Regions from separate parts of the Homo sapiens genome. Here regions 2, 3 and 4 are each linked to region 1. The links are contacts of gene promoters, found by promoter capture Hi-C in human tissues and cell types (Jung and others, 2019). All regions are on one chromosome and are shown on one strand. The core of a region is centred on a gene start or on the middle of the fragment in contact, and the rest is flanking DNA. Distances in the headings are between cores, read along the strand shown. Region 1 holds the start of PCSK2 (proprotein convertase subtilisin/kexin type 2). Region 2 has its middle 75 kb from the start of OTOR. Region 3 has its middle 130 kb from the start of OTOR. Region 4 has its middle 210 kb from the start of OTOR.

Region 1 (3,254 bases), core at 504-3,003:
TAGTGAGCTGAGGGGCCCAGAGTTGATCTGTTTCCCTTTATTAATACTTTCACCGTGTTAATACTTTTCCAGAAACCTTGCCTCCACCATGGCCCTAAGTCCTAACAGATAGCTTAATTTTCTTAGAGGAATTCAAATAACAATAATAAATAATGTCACATAGACTTCTAATGTTTTAATAAAAACCTTCAGCAACGCCCACATTTTTACGTGACAATTTTTTAAAGGGCTATGAGGGAGCCAACTATGTCAGCAAACAGACATGCTCTGAAGACAGGGTGGTCCATGGCATTCAAAGTGTATTCATTTCTACCGATGGTGCTTTTCTTGCATAGGTTCTGACTTGTGTAGATTTGGACTTCAAGCTAAAATAAAAAGAGAGGAATATGTGTATACATGAGAATGTGTGTGTAACGTGTCGATGGTATAAATAGTCTCTTCCTCTCTCTCTGAATTGCATGCACTTAAGCCCCTAAGAAAAGATCTCTTACCTCTTATCTAAGTAAAGCAGAATTTTGAGCTTTGAAGCTAAATGATACAATGAGATCAGTGTAAATACTCTTTAACACAACAATATTTGAGTAGCTTTGAAACAGTCGTCCTCATTTCGTTACATACAGAACGTTCGTGCTTCCTCCCTCTCAGGCAAGAAGCGGAGTCCGTCGTCAGCAGTTAGCAGAGTCCAGTGCGAGTGCACGTTTCTTAACCGGATAACTTAGTTGCCCCTGCCCCCCGTCGCTGCGCCCGAATTCGCCTCCAGTAGAAGACGTTCAGCGGGCGACTTGGCCCGGCGCCTGGGATCGGTGGCTATGCGTTCCCCAACTAGCACCCTCGCTGTCCTTGTGCAGTGGAACGTCCCCAGGTCTGAGAATGCACCTCCCGCCGTGTCCACCCCGGCCGCGTCTCTCCTGAAGGCAGATCTTGGAGGTGCAGCCAGGACTCCTAGAGGAGCCTCCTCCAGTCACCATCGCGGGTGGGGCGAGCCGGGTCTCCTGCTGGGCTTCCCAGCCGCTTCGCTCCGGACCTGCCTGGAGCCTACAAAAAACAAGGGCTCGTCCTTGCACTCTCGCCCCCCATGGATCACCCCTAGAAGGTGCTTTCCCCAACCCTCCTGGTGCCAAGGAGAGCAAACCTCCCCGGGGATTTGCCCAAAGTGGTGGGAGGAGGGTTAATATTTGCTTTGTTATTCGGATAAGGGGAGGCAAGTATGCCTTGGGTGTGTGTGTGTGTGTTTGAGAGAGAGAGAAAGAGAGAGAGAGAGAGAGAGAGGTGTTTTTGCAGCGGGAAACAAGCAGGAAGAGGCACAGAGGCCGGCGCCCCTGCTCCCCTCGGGGCCTCTGAGAGCGGCACACACCGTAATTCCCTTCCCAGAGCCTACAGATTCCCACAAACAATGACATCACTCCGCCGCCGCTGGCCTGATTACAGCTGGGGGGATTTTCCTGGGCGCGCGGCGGGCCAGGCTGAGATGGGGGAGCTCTCCGGTGCTGAAAGGGGCGGGGGCGCGGGCTCGCTGCGCTGCGCTGCGCTGCGCTGCGCCCCCAGAAGGCGGAGGCGGCCGGGCCGGGCCGGGCCGGGGGTGGGCGGGGGCGGGCCCGGGGCGGCCCAGGGCGGGGCCCGCCGCTTCCCCCGCCCTCATTGGCCGCTGGCGGACTCACGTCACCCGAGCTGGTGCTCTCCCCCAGCCCCTAGGGAATTGGAGCTGAGGAGGAGCTGAAAATGCAGATTTAGCATCAAGCACAGACCTACACTCGCTCTTTCTCTCCGGTACACACAGCTCCCCACATTCGCACCCCTGCCCGCGCGCCGGGCCGCCTGACTGCACGGCTTCCCCTCCAGCCAGATGCTGGAGAACACACACTGATTCGCTGCTTTCCAAGACCCTGTTCAGTCTCTTTCTCTATACAAAGATTTTTTTAAAAACTATATATAAGAATTCTTTATTTGCACCCTCCCTCCGAGTCCCCTGCTCCGCCAGCCTGCGCGCCTCCTAGCACCACTTTTCACTCCCAAAGAAGGATGAAGGGTGGTTGTGTCTCCCAGTGGAAGGCGGCCGCCGGGTTCCTCTTCTGTGTCATGGTTTTTGCATCTGCTGAGCGACCGGTCTTCACGAATCATTTTCTTGTGGAGTTGCATAAAGGGGGAGAGGACAAAGCTCGCCAAGTTGCAGCAGAACACGGCTTTGGAGTCCGAAAGGTAAGCTCTCCCATGCATTTCGCATGTTGTTTCAAAACGGGGGGACGGGGGGGCAGCCCTGCGCAATCTCATTGCAGATTTGCAAGTTTTCTCTCTTTCTCATGCGATGCAGATATTCTGCCATGGGCTCTTTAACACGATATTGCCTCCGGTGATCTTTCACCGGTTATGTAATTAAAATGTCCTTCATCTGTACTAGTAAGGTCATCAAAATAATTTACTGCTCTTTGACTTGATGGCGAAAATAGGATAACACCTTTCACAGGATGCCATGCTCCGGGGATGCTGTCCGAGGTACCAAGTTCTCGAGGCTGCCTGGGGATGGAGGGATGAAGCCCTGAACAGCTAAGCCTGGCGTTGGCTACTTGGCCAGGGAAGTCTCCCCCACCCCCATCCCCCGGAGAAAGAATAGTTTCCTACAGACGAGGCTGGACGTTTGGACACTGCAATTCACCTCGGTGTTTCTCCCACCCCGCGCCGGGAGGACTTCCCTCCCAGGGACTTCGGTCCCTGCTCCTCTCCGGGAACAACGGCTTCCTGACTCTAGATTTGGAAAGAAACTGGTCTCTAAAATCGGGGCGGAACTTCTGCGCCCTCACCCCCGCCCACGACCGCCCACCCCTGGAGCGCACTTCTGGTTGGCTCCCTAGTTCTCAACTCCCGGCTACAGGAGCTGGAGAGGTGGATTTTGAGGGGGATTCCCTACGGAGAAGTCGAGGTGTCCTCTCCTGATGCGTGGGCGGCCAGCCTGGCTTTCCCACTAGAGCGTGGGGATCCCCATTCCAAGAAGTTGCCAGAGTTCGACAGTTTGAGCAGATAGGTGAGCCTCCCAGCTTTGGACACCTTGGATCTCCTTTGGAGACTCCAGGGTACTCATCCTGGGAGGACAGAGAGAAGGGCGCTGGGTGGGGGCTGTGGCTGACCTGCGTGTCTCTCCTGCAAAAGATGTATCAGGGTTCTCCAGTGTCCTTAGGGGACCTGGCGCAGGCTGGGGTGGAGTGTGGGTGCAGAGAGAAGGTGGGGCGAGGGGAACCCAAAGGACAGAGATGTGGCTACCA
Region 2 (3,254 bases), core at 513-3,012, 400 kb before region 1:
GCCATCTACTGGCTGGTAAGCTGAACTGCACAGCCTGATATAAAACCTGCCAAAAGAAATCCACGGGGCTATAGAAGCAGAAAAAAAGACCCTATCCAGCATTCTCTACAGTCACAGCCCCTGGTCGGGGGTGGGGGGTTAAAGTAAAGGGAAATAAAAAAAAATATAGGAAATAAAAGAAAAAGTCCTACCTGTGCCAAAATAATTACAAAAATTAGAATACCAGCATCTCCAGATGAGAAGGAACCAGCTCAAGAATTCTAGCACCATGAAAAATCTGAATGAAATGGCACCACCAAAGGATGCCACTAGCCCTCCAACAACGGTCCCTAACCAAAGTGGAAACTTAGAGATGACAGGTAAAGAATTCAAAGCATGAATTGCAAGGAAGCTCCATGAGATCTATGACAATGTTGAAAATCAACACAAAGAAACCTCTAAAATCCAGGAAATGGAGGAAGAGATAAACACCTTAAAAAGAAATCAGCCAGAGCTTCTGAAATTAAAAAGCTCACTTAAAGAATTTCAAGATACAATTAGAAGCTTTATGAATACACTAGCAGAAGAAAGAATTTATCGATAAACAAGCAGAAGAAAGAATTTCTGAGCTTGAAGAGCAGTCTTTCAACTGAGTCAGACAAAAATGGAAAAAAAAGAATTTTTAAAAACGAAGTCTTTGAGAAATATGGGATTATGTAAAGTGACCAAACCTATGAATTGTCTCTGAGAGAGAAGGAGAAAAAGTAAACAACCTAGAAAACATATTTGAAAGAATAATACAAGAAAATTTCCTTAATCTTGCTATAGAGAGATAAAAATCTAGATACAAGAAATCCATAGAACACCTGTGAGATACCATACAAAGTGAACATTACCAAAGCATATAGTTACCAGACTGTCCGAGGTCAATGCTAAAGAAAAAATCTTGAATGTAGCTAGAGAAAAAGGGCAGATAAAACACAATGGGAACTGCATTAGGCTAACAATGAACTTCTCAGCAGAAACCTTACAAGCAAGGAGAGATTGAGGGCCTATTGTCAGTATTCTTAAAGAAAAAAATTCCAACCAAGAATTTCATATCGCACTAAACTAAGCTTCATATGTGAAGGAGAAATAAAATCTTCTGCAGGCAATCAAGTGCTAAGGGAATTTGTTACCACTGGATCAGCCTTATAAGAGATCCTTAAGTGATTTCTAAACATGGAAACAAAAGAATGATATGTGCTATCACAAAAACACACTTAAGTATATAACTCACAGACCCTACAAAGCAACCATACAATAGAAACCATAAAGCAACCATCTAACAATTTCATGTTAGGATAAAAAAAATCATATATCAGTATTAAACTTGAAGTAAATGGTTTAAATGCCCCACTTAAAAGGCACAGAGAGGCAAGTTGGATAAAAAACAAGATCCATCTGTTTGCTGTGTTCAAGAGACATATCTCACATGTAATGACACCAATAGGCTCAAAGTAAAGGGCTGGAGAAAGATCTATCATGCAAATGGAAAACGAACAAGAGCAGACATTGTTATTCTTATTTCAGATGAAACAGCAATTAAACTAACAACAGTAAAAAAGGACAAAAGGTATTATTACACAAAGATAAAGAGTTCAATTCGGCAAACTTAACTATCCTAAATACACACACACACCCAACATTGGAGCACCCAGATTCATAAAACAAGTACTTCCAGACTTGTGAAAAGACTTAGAAAGCCACACAATAATAATGGGAGACTTCAACACCCCACTGGCAGTGTTAGATCTTTGATGTAGAAAACTAATAATAAAATTCTGGACTTAAATTCAACACCTGAATAATTGAACCTAATAGATATTGACAGAATACTCCACTCCTCAACCACAGAATACACATGCTTCTCACATGCACATGGAACATATTCCAAGATTGACCGTAAAGCAAGTCCCAGTAAATTAAAAAAAAATAGAAATTATACTGACCATACTCTCAGACCACAGTGGAATAAAAATAAAAGTCAATAACAGGAAAATCAAAACCACACAATTACATGGAAATTAAACAACTTGCTTCTGAATGACTTTTGGTAAATAACAAAATTAATGCAAAAATAAAAAATATCTTTAAAATAAATGAAAACAGAGACACAGCATGCCAAAACCTCTGGGATGCAGCAAAAGTATTGTTAAGAGGAAAGTTTATAGTGCTAAACGTCTACCTCAAAAACTTAGAAAGATCTCAAATTAATGGTCTTACATTATACCTAGATGAACTAGAAAAACAAGAACAAACTAATCCCAATCCTAGCAGAAAAAAATAAATAACTAAAACTAAAGCTGAATTGAGTGAAATTGAGACCCAAACATCCATACAAAGAATCACCAAAATCCAAAGTTGGTTTTGAAAGGATAAACAAGATCAATAGATCTCTAGCTGGATTAACAAAAAAAGGAGAGAAGATCCAAATAAGCATAATCAGAAATGAAGAAATAACAAAGGTGACATTGCAGCCAATCCTACAGAAATATAATAAAAATCAGAGACTATTATGAACACCTTTATGCACACAAAATAGAAAATTTAGAGGAAATGAATCAATTCCTGGAATCACACAATGTCCCAATATTGAATTAGGAAGAAATTGAAACCTTGAACAGACCAATATTGAGTTCCAAAATGGAATCAGTAGTAAAAAAAAAACTACTAGCCAAAAAAAACTCCCTACTGGATGGATTTACAGCTGAATTCTGCCAGACATACAAAGAAGAGCTGGTGTCAATTCTACTAAAACTATTTCAAAAATCAAGGAGAAGGGGATCCTCCATAACTCATTTTACAAAGCCAGCATCACCCTGATGCCAATACCTGGAAAACACACAATGGAAAAAGAAAACTACAAGCCAATATCCCTGATAAACATAGTCACAGAAATTCTTAACAAAATACTAGCAAACTAAATCCAGCAGCACATCACAAAGTTAATTTACCATGATCATTTCTGGGATGCAAGGTTGGTTCAACATATGTAAATCAATAAGTGTGATTCACCACATAAACTGATGAAAAACAAAAACCATATGATCATCTCAATATATGTGCAAAAAGCTTTCAATAAAATCCAACATGTCTTCATGATAAAAACCCTCAACAAACTAGGCATTGAAGGAACATACCTCAAAATAATAAGAGCCATCTGTGACAAAACTACAGCCAACAACATGCTGAACAGGCAAAATCTGGAAGCATTCCCCTTGAGAAATGGAGCA
Region 3 (3,254 bases), core at 232-2,731, 350 kb before region 1:
TTTTCCTATTGTATATACAGAGATCTCTAGAAGAACCCACAAGGAGCTGGTAACAGTGGTTACCTCTGGGGAGGCAACCAGGTGACTGGGCAAAGGGGTGTGAGAGAGACTTAATTTTCACCTTACATGCTTCTGCTTTTTAAATTCTGAACCATGTATCTATATTATCCATCCACAAATAAAATAAAATAAAATAAAATATACCCCCAGTGAAAGAAAATAAATTTTAAACCACAGGCAATAAGAACTAACATACACACACACTCACATACACACATATAAATATATACAGACAGTCCCTGATTTAAGATGGTTCAATTTACAATTTTCTAATGTTATGATTGGTACCCATATAACTATTCTGTTTTGACTTTCAGTACAGTATTCACTAACTTACATGAGACGTTCAATACTTTATTATAAAATAAGCTTTGTGTTAGATGATTTTGCCCAACAGTAGGCTAATGTAAATGTTCTGAGCTTGCTTAAGGTAAGCTAGACTAAGCTATGATATTCGGTATATTAGGTGTATTAACTGCACTTTTGACTTAAAGTATTTTCAATTTGTGACAGGTTTATCAGAAGTAACCCCAGTGTACGTTGAGGAGCATCTGTATTTGGTGTACTGAATATAATATGTATTGAAATATACACTATGTATCCAACACAGTAGATAATTAAAAGTCTATTTATAGGCAAATGATTAAAAAAATTGGTGTTGAGACTCAATGAAATATTATGCAACAGTGACAATAAATGGGGTAGATACACTTGTACACAGAAAAATCACCACACCTGCAGTTAAGGGAGCTATGAAGATTGTCTAGCAATATATTATCATAAATGACAAGCAATTCTTCACACAAAACAAAGCTATGCCTAGCTATATACAGTTGTACATGTGTAAATGGGGTCCAGAAGTTCTGGAAAGATTCACATCAAAATAATAGCAGTTACCTTTACAGAGGGTATTAGGATTAAGATGAGCTTTGATTATGCATTTTGAGAATATATATCCATGTCTTACTTATATTATAGAAATAAATAAATGTTTAAAAAATAATAAATCTTTGCATTTGTGTTTAAAAATTTTGTTCAACAAATGTTCATTTGTTGTTGTTCATGGTATAAGTATTGGAGACAACTTAAACCGTCATCAGTGAAAGAGTGGCTAAATAGACTATGCCATATCTGTGATATTTAATCACATGCCGCTATTAAAGACAATGAGGGAGATCTCACCCTGATTACATGTATGGTTAAATGCATTGAAATTAAATTGTCAACATACCAAATATACCAAAATATTGGCAATATTTATCTTCAGAAAGAAGAATAAAAATGAAGGTATAAATTAGGACTTGATGGTTTTTTTTTTTTTTTGAGACGGAATCTCGCTCTGCCACCCAGGCTGGAGTGCAATCTCGGCTCACTACAACCTCTGCCTCCCAGGTTCAAGCGATTCTCCTGCCTGAGCCTCCTGAGTAGCTGGGATTACAGGCACCTGCCACCATGCCCGGCTAATTTTTTGTATTTTTAGTAAAGACAGGGTTTCACTATTTTGGCCAGGCTGGTCTCAAACTCCTGACCTTGTGATCTGCCTGCCTTGGCTTCCCAAAGTGCTGGGATTACAGGCGTGAGCCACCGCACCCGGCCAGTTTGTTTTTAATATATATGAGTGCCTGTAGTGTTTGAACCTTATAAGAACAGTGTTTTTATTTATTATTGTGTAATTAAAAATCTATATTAACAGAACATAAGATCTGTAGTAGCAGAGTAACAGTATATTTGTGTCTTGAAAATGAAAAGACAACATTTACATTCATGATTGATATGGCCGATCCCCCCCCATTATTCTTCTTAGCTGTTGACATCCATTCAAACTTTCTTTCATTTGATTGATGCAACTATTTTTTGACTCTCTCTTCTCATTTTTGAGACAGAGTCTCACTCTTTCATCCAGGCTGGAGTGCAGTGGAGTGATCTCAGCTTACTACAACCTCTCCTCTCAGGTTCAAATGATTCTCCTACCTCAGCCTACTGAGTAGCTGGGACTACAGGTGCCCACCACCACACTCAGCTAATTTTTGGATTTTTAGTGGAGGCCGGGTTTCACCTTCTTGGCCAGGCTGGTCTCGAACTCCTGACCTCAGGTGATCTACCTTCCTTGGCCTCCCAAAGTGCTGGGATTACAGGCATGAGCCGCTGCACCCGGTCTGACTCTCCCTTTCATAAACCAGAGGATGACACCTCCTAATCTCTCCACCTTCCTCTTTTAGTCAGTGTTTCAAATGGATTAAAAACAAGGGCTGCTTGCTAAGGACTACGCTGATCAAAAGAAATACAGACGTTGCTCTATGTGTCAAATAAAGCACCTGTTTGTTCACTTTCCAGGAAAAATTGCCATGTGGTTGATACTGTAGGAAACAGGAGACTGCTATATTTGTTGGAGTTGGATGCAGACCATTCTTACATTGCCAAGTGTAGGGGCAAAGGGGGTGTCTAGTCTCATGTTATTTTCAAACCTTAAAAGACATAGAGAGTGAGGCAGTTCTTCCAAATCATTTTACCAAAGTAAGTTCTCATTTGTTCTGCATTGACAACTTCACATGATTAAAAGAAAGGAAATTTCCCCAATATTCCACTTGTCACTTCTGATAGCCCGATTCTCTACACAGCTAACTCACAAGTTTACCTGGGAAGCCAAGTTCTTTACTGACTTTGCAGCTTTGAATATTCCAGTAAAAGATGTAGGGTAGTACTGCAAATAGCCCTAAATCTGCTATTTAAACTTTGAAACATTTTATTCAAGACCTTGTTTTTCCTACTGAATTTCCCTTGAAGCTTAAACCCCATTCCCTGTAGTGCAAAATTTCCATTAACAACGAGAACCAACGGCTTAAATCACTGGATCTGAGTTACTTTCTTGTTCCTGAGCATGAAGAATGCTTTGAATACTGCTAAAGGGCACATGAATATTTTCAATATCCTTGGGTAACATTTGAAGAAATACTTGTACATAGGATACAGTAGTATCTCATGTAATTAAGATGCAGGTGAAGTGGCTTAATGAGGAAGTAGTTCAATTTGTATTTGTGGGGAGTTTGTCTCAGACTGCCTGCCCAGATTTTTAGTAGAACTGAACTGGCAAATAGAAGCACAAAACAGATCTCCAATTTTAGTAGCTGATAGGGTTTGGCTGTGTCCCCACCCAAATCTCATCTTGAATTCCCACGTTTTATGGGAGGGACCTG
Region 4 (3,254 bases), core at 239-2,738, 270 kb before region 1:
TGAGGAGAAAAAATCAGATATTTCAAAATTCAAATTCCTTCCTTTATCTGATTAATGAAACAATGCGTACATGCATTTCATGCATATATAACATACATATATGTATACATACATTCTTACACTTCTCTTTACTTTGGAACACATTAGAAAGAGCTATAAATTGGGAGGCAGAAGATTTTGTTTCAAGTCTCGATTTTGCCACCTACTAGATGGGATCTCTGCCCCTCAGTTTCTTCAATGGTTAAATAAGGACAATACTATTGTGTTAGCTTTACCCAGATCATAAGAATCATTGTTGGAAGACAAATAGACCATATACATTTAAAAAAAGTTTAAAGGCTATGAAGATGCAAAGTATGAACATGGCAGAAATAGAAATTGCTTCTGAATTGCTGGGAACCCAAGCCTGAAATAATTCTTGGAAGGAAGAAAGTCACTTAGGACTTTATAAGTGTCACATTGCTCTTCATGGTTTAAGAACACCAAAATAGCTAAGAAATGTTACATAAGGAAAATCACTTCTACCACTTGATAATAGTAGTTTTTATGGAACTCTGCTTTTGCTCTCATCTGCATGAACAAATATATCCACATGCAAGCTAGGTCCTGCTTCAACTAAAATTCTAAAACAACATAAAACAACAATAGAAAATCCTTGTATTAGAAACTGAAGTGGCCAACTAATTAATTTATCCCTCCCACAATTATCTGTGTACCCATTATGTGCTTAGCATTGTCTAAAGGTTTTAGGAGGTGCCCAGCAGCATCCAAGCTTCCTTTGAGATTACAATGCAGTTGGGGATAAGAGAATGACACAAAAGAGCTGTTAAATAGAGCAGGGAAAGTAGTACAAGAGATGTCACAGGCAGATTTGTGACAAGTGCTGACAGCGTGTCAAGATTTCAGAGAATGAAGAGATGAGAGAAAGCTGAGCTAATCATTGAATTTCCTGTTGAAAAGAAAGGACTTGAGTTGGATATTGATAATCAACTAGGATTTGGATAGGAGACAAAGATGAGGATGGCTTTGATTATAGAAATATGAGTTCAGGAAGTCCTGTACAAATCCACCAGCTGGAACTATCTAGGCAGAATAACAATCTTTATGTACAGTGTAATCCATAGTACAATGGCAACTGTACTATGGATTACACTATAATCCAGTGGTGATCATGAATGCCCTGATAACATAGCCCAGGCCACTACATCACCAATCCTGCTTCCTTTTGGGTCACAGGGCCTTCAAAGTATATGAACCCTTGAAATTATAATTTAAAACAATAATGCCCAAAATGAGTTTCATGAAACCTTGATACCTTTTGACATGTATCATCAGTAAGTGTTACCTCTAAAAATGAAGACATGTGGTTAAAAAAGTTCAGGAAACACTAAATACTGTATCTCCACTGGAGAGCTTCAATACACATTATTAGCTGCACTAGATTGATTTTGGTAACTCTGCTCCATTCCTGCCCCCTGCTTTATAAAATCCAAAAATTCTTTAATGGTGGGCACAAAACAAAGATACTCAACTAAATGAAGGGCAGAACTCTTAGTTACTTACATCTCTGAAGGAGAGAAGGCTGCCACGCAGGGCCACACGGGGAGTTGCAAGATGCAGAGAGCAATTTATGTCTGGTGTATGGCAAGCCGGGTTTCACAGGCTTCCTGTGAATTGACTAATTTGAATAATTTTGTGGACTCAGTACATAGAGACTGTCCCTAATTGTCTGGGGTCTGGCCCCAGGCTAATTGGGTGAGTGCATAGTGGTCTGCAGCGTGAGAGCCCAATAAGGAAAATGCTTAATCAGTTGCTCAAGGAAGGGAACTGACAGGCTTCTGGTGGGTACCTCAAATTGGGTGAAGATAACATTTCCAAAAGCAACAATAAACAAAATAGACCACTCCCTCCTGTGATCGCTACTGCATTCTAGGGTCTAGAAGCCTGATAACTACATTACTAAGATTCCAGAGGGAACAGAGTTCAGACTAGACGCTGCCAATGGAGAAGCACTTACATGAAAAGTAAAAGGCAAAAGGGAGAGAGCTACTGTTGTTTCTCCAGCAAGTGGCAGGAGTAAATCTGAGATTTGTGAGATGCAATGTTTTCTAGTCCTTTCCAGACATTCCCCTGAACATTAGTCACCTCAGGTCTGGAGACAGTAGTGATAGCGACAGCAGCTTCCTAACTGTGGTGCTCTTTGGATCTAATGGTGGCTTTACCTGATCTTTGCGACTTCAGGCCCTTCCAATAGAGTTGTAAGCTCCCAATCTTCCGCATTAAATATTTTTATGCTAGAAATCTACAGTTATTGCTGCTTTCCTGACTGTGTCCCAACAATATAGCATAGTTAAATTTCTGGGAACCCATGCTATAAAACAAAACAAAACAAAATAAACTAGCATTTCCCAAATATGTTTGACCATAGAACCTGACTCCCCATTTCCCCTTCTCCCCAAAACCACCTTCTGATATCTTGAAAAATTCGTTTCGTGGTGCTCCCTTTGGAAAACATCCATAGACTTATATGTTGAGAACTAGGAGTCCAGAAATGTGGGCTTAGTCTCAGCTGTGTGACCTTGGGTAGGTCACATCATTTATCTTGTTTTTAGTTTCTCTGCTAGATCAAAAGAAGAGTTGAATGAAGATAACCAGGAATTTTAGCTCTAATTTGTTTCCATTCTGTGAGAAATGCTGTCCTTAAAAACTATCATTGTTCAGGTAGAAAAAAATAAAAATTAAAAAAAGAACTACTGTGTTTTCCTTTGCCTTCTCTTCCTTTTTGGCTTGGTTTGCATGAATATTTTGAGTCAAGCTAGGAAAATTCCAAGAAAACTGGCAGCAAGTGAATAAATGCTGGATAGCTCTTACTAAAGTGATGTGGTGTTTTTAGAACTTTAATATATTAATGTGGATCCTAGAAATGGTCCCTTCAGAAGTGGGTTTCCTTTTGTACTGACACTGCACAGAAAGGAAGAGATACAAGAAAGAAACCTCCAGCACTCAAACTGAGTCATTTTAAAATGTAGCAAACTCCCTGTCACTGGGAACATTCAAGTAGAAACTAGATGTTGGCATGGCAGGGATAACATAATTAGTTTTGTCTTTATTTTGCTATTTTTCTGAGAGGGATGGCACAGACCATTTATACAGATCCCCACATTTTACAGACAAGGAAACAAAAAGTCATAGAGGTTATATGGATTTCCCTGGGTCACACAGCAAATCCATGGCAGAACTGGGAGAAAGACACT

Evidence for each region. The method cuts DNA at HindIII sites, captures the fragments that hold promoters and counts their contacts. A contact is called where the count stands out against the background at its distance.
Region 2: a contact is called between a fragment that was not itself captured here and the fragment with the promoter of PCSK2 in region 1, in 4 of the 25 tissues and cell types used here (H1 embryonic stem cells, dorsolateral prefrontal cortex, heart right ventricle and 1 more).
Region 3: a contact is called between a fragment that was not itself captured here and the fragment with the promoter of PCSK2 in region 1, in 3 of the 25 tissues and cell types used here (dorsolateral prefrontal cortex, mesenchymal stem cells and mesendoderm cells).
Region 4: a contact is called between a fragment that was not itself captured here and the fragment with the promoter of PCSK2 in region 1, in 2 of the 25 tissues and cell types used here (dorsolateral prefrontal cortex and lymphoblastoid cells).

The regions. Positions count from the first base shown.
Region 1 is chr20:17,225,287-17,228,540 of GRCh38, forward strand. PCSK2 (proprotein convertase subtilisin/kexin type 2) reads left to right here and starts at 1,754. Exons shown (of 12, transcript NM_002594.5): 1 at 1,754-2,196. The coding sequence starts at 2,020. The HindIII fragment of the contact is 16,215 bases long and covers 1-3,254 here.
Region 2 is chr20:16,821,661-16,824,914 of GRCh38, forward strand. No RefSeq gene overlaps it. Among named protein-coding and RNA genes, the nearest start is that of OTOR, 75 kb to the left of the region's middle. The HindIII fragment of the contact is 4,833 bases long and covers 1-3,254 here.
Region 3 is chr20:16,873,797-16,877,050 of GRCh38, forward strand. No RefSeq gene overlaps it. Among named protein-coding and RNA genes, the nearest start is that of OTOR, 130 kb to the left of the region's middle. The HindIII fragment of the contact is 3,241 bases long and covers 1-3,102 here.
Region 4 is chr20:16,952,363-16,955,616 of GRCh38, forward strand. No RefSeq gene overlaps it. Among named protein-coding and RNA genes, the nearest start is that of OTOR, 210 kb to the left of the region's middle. The HindIII fragment of the contact is 9,535 bases long and covers 1-3,254 here.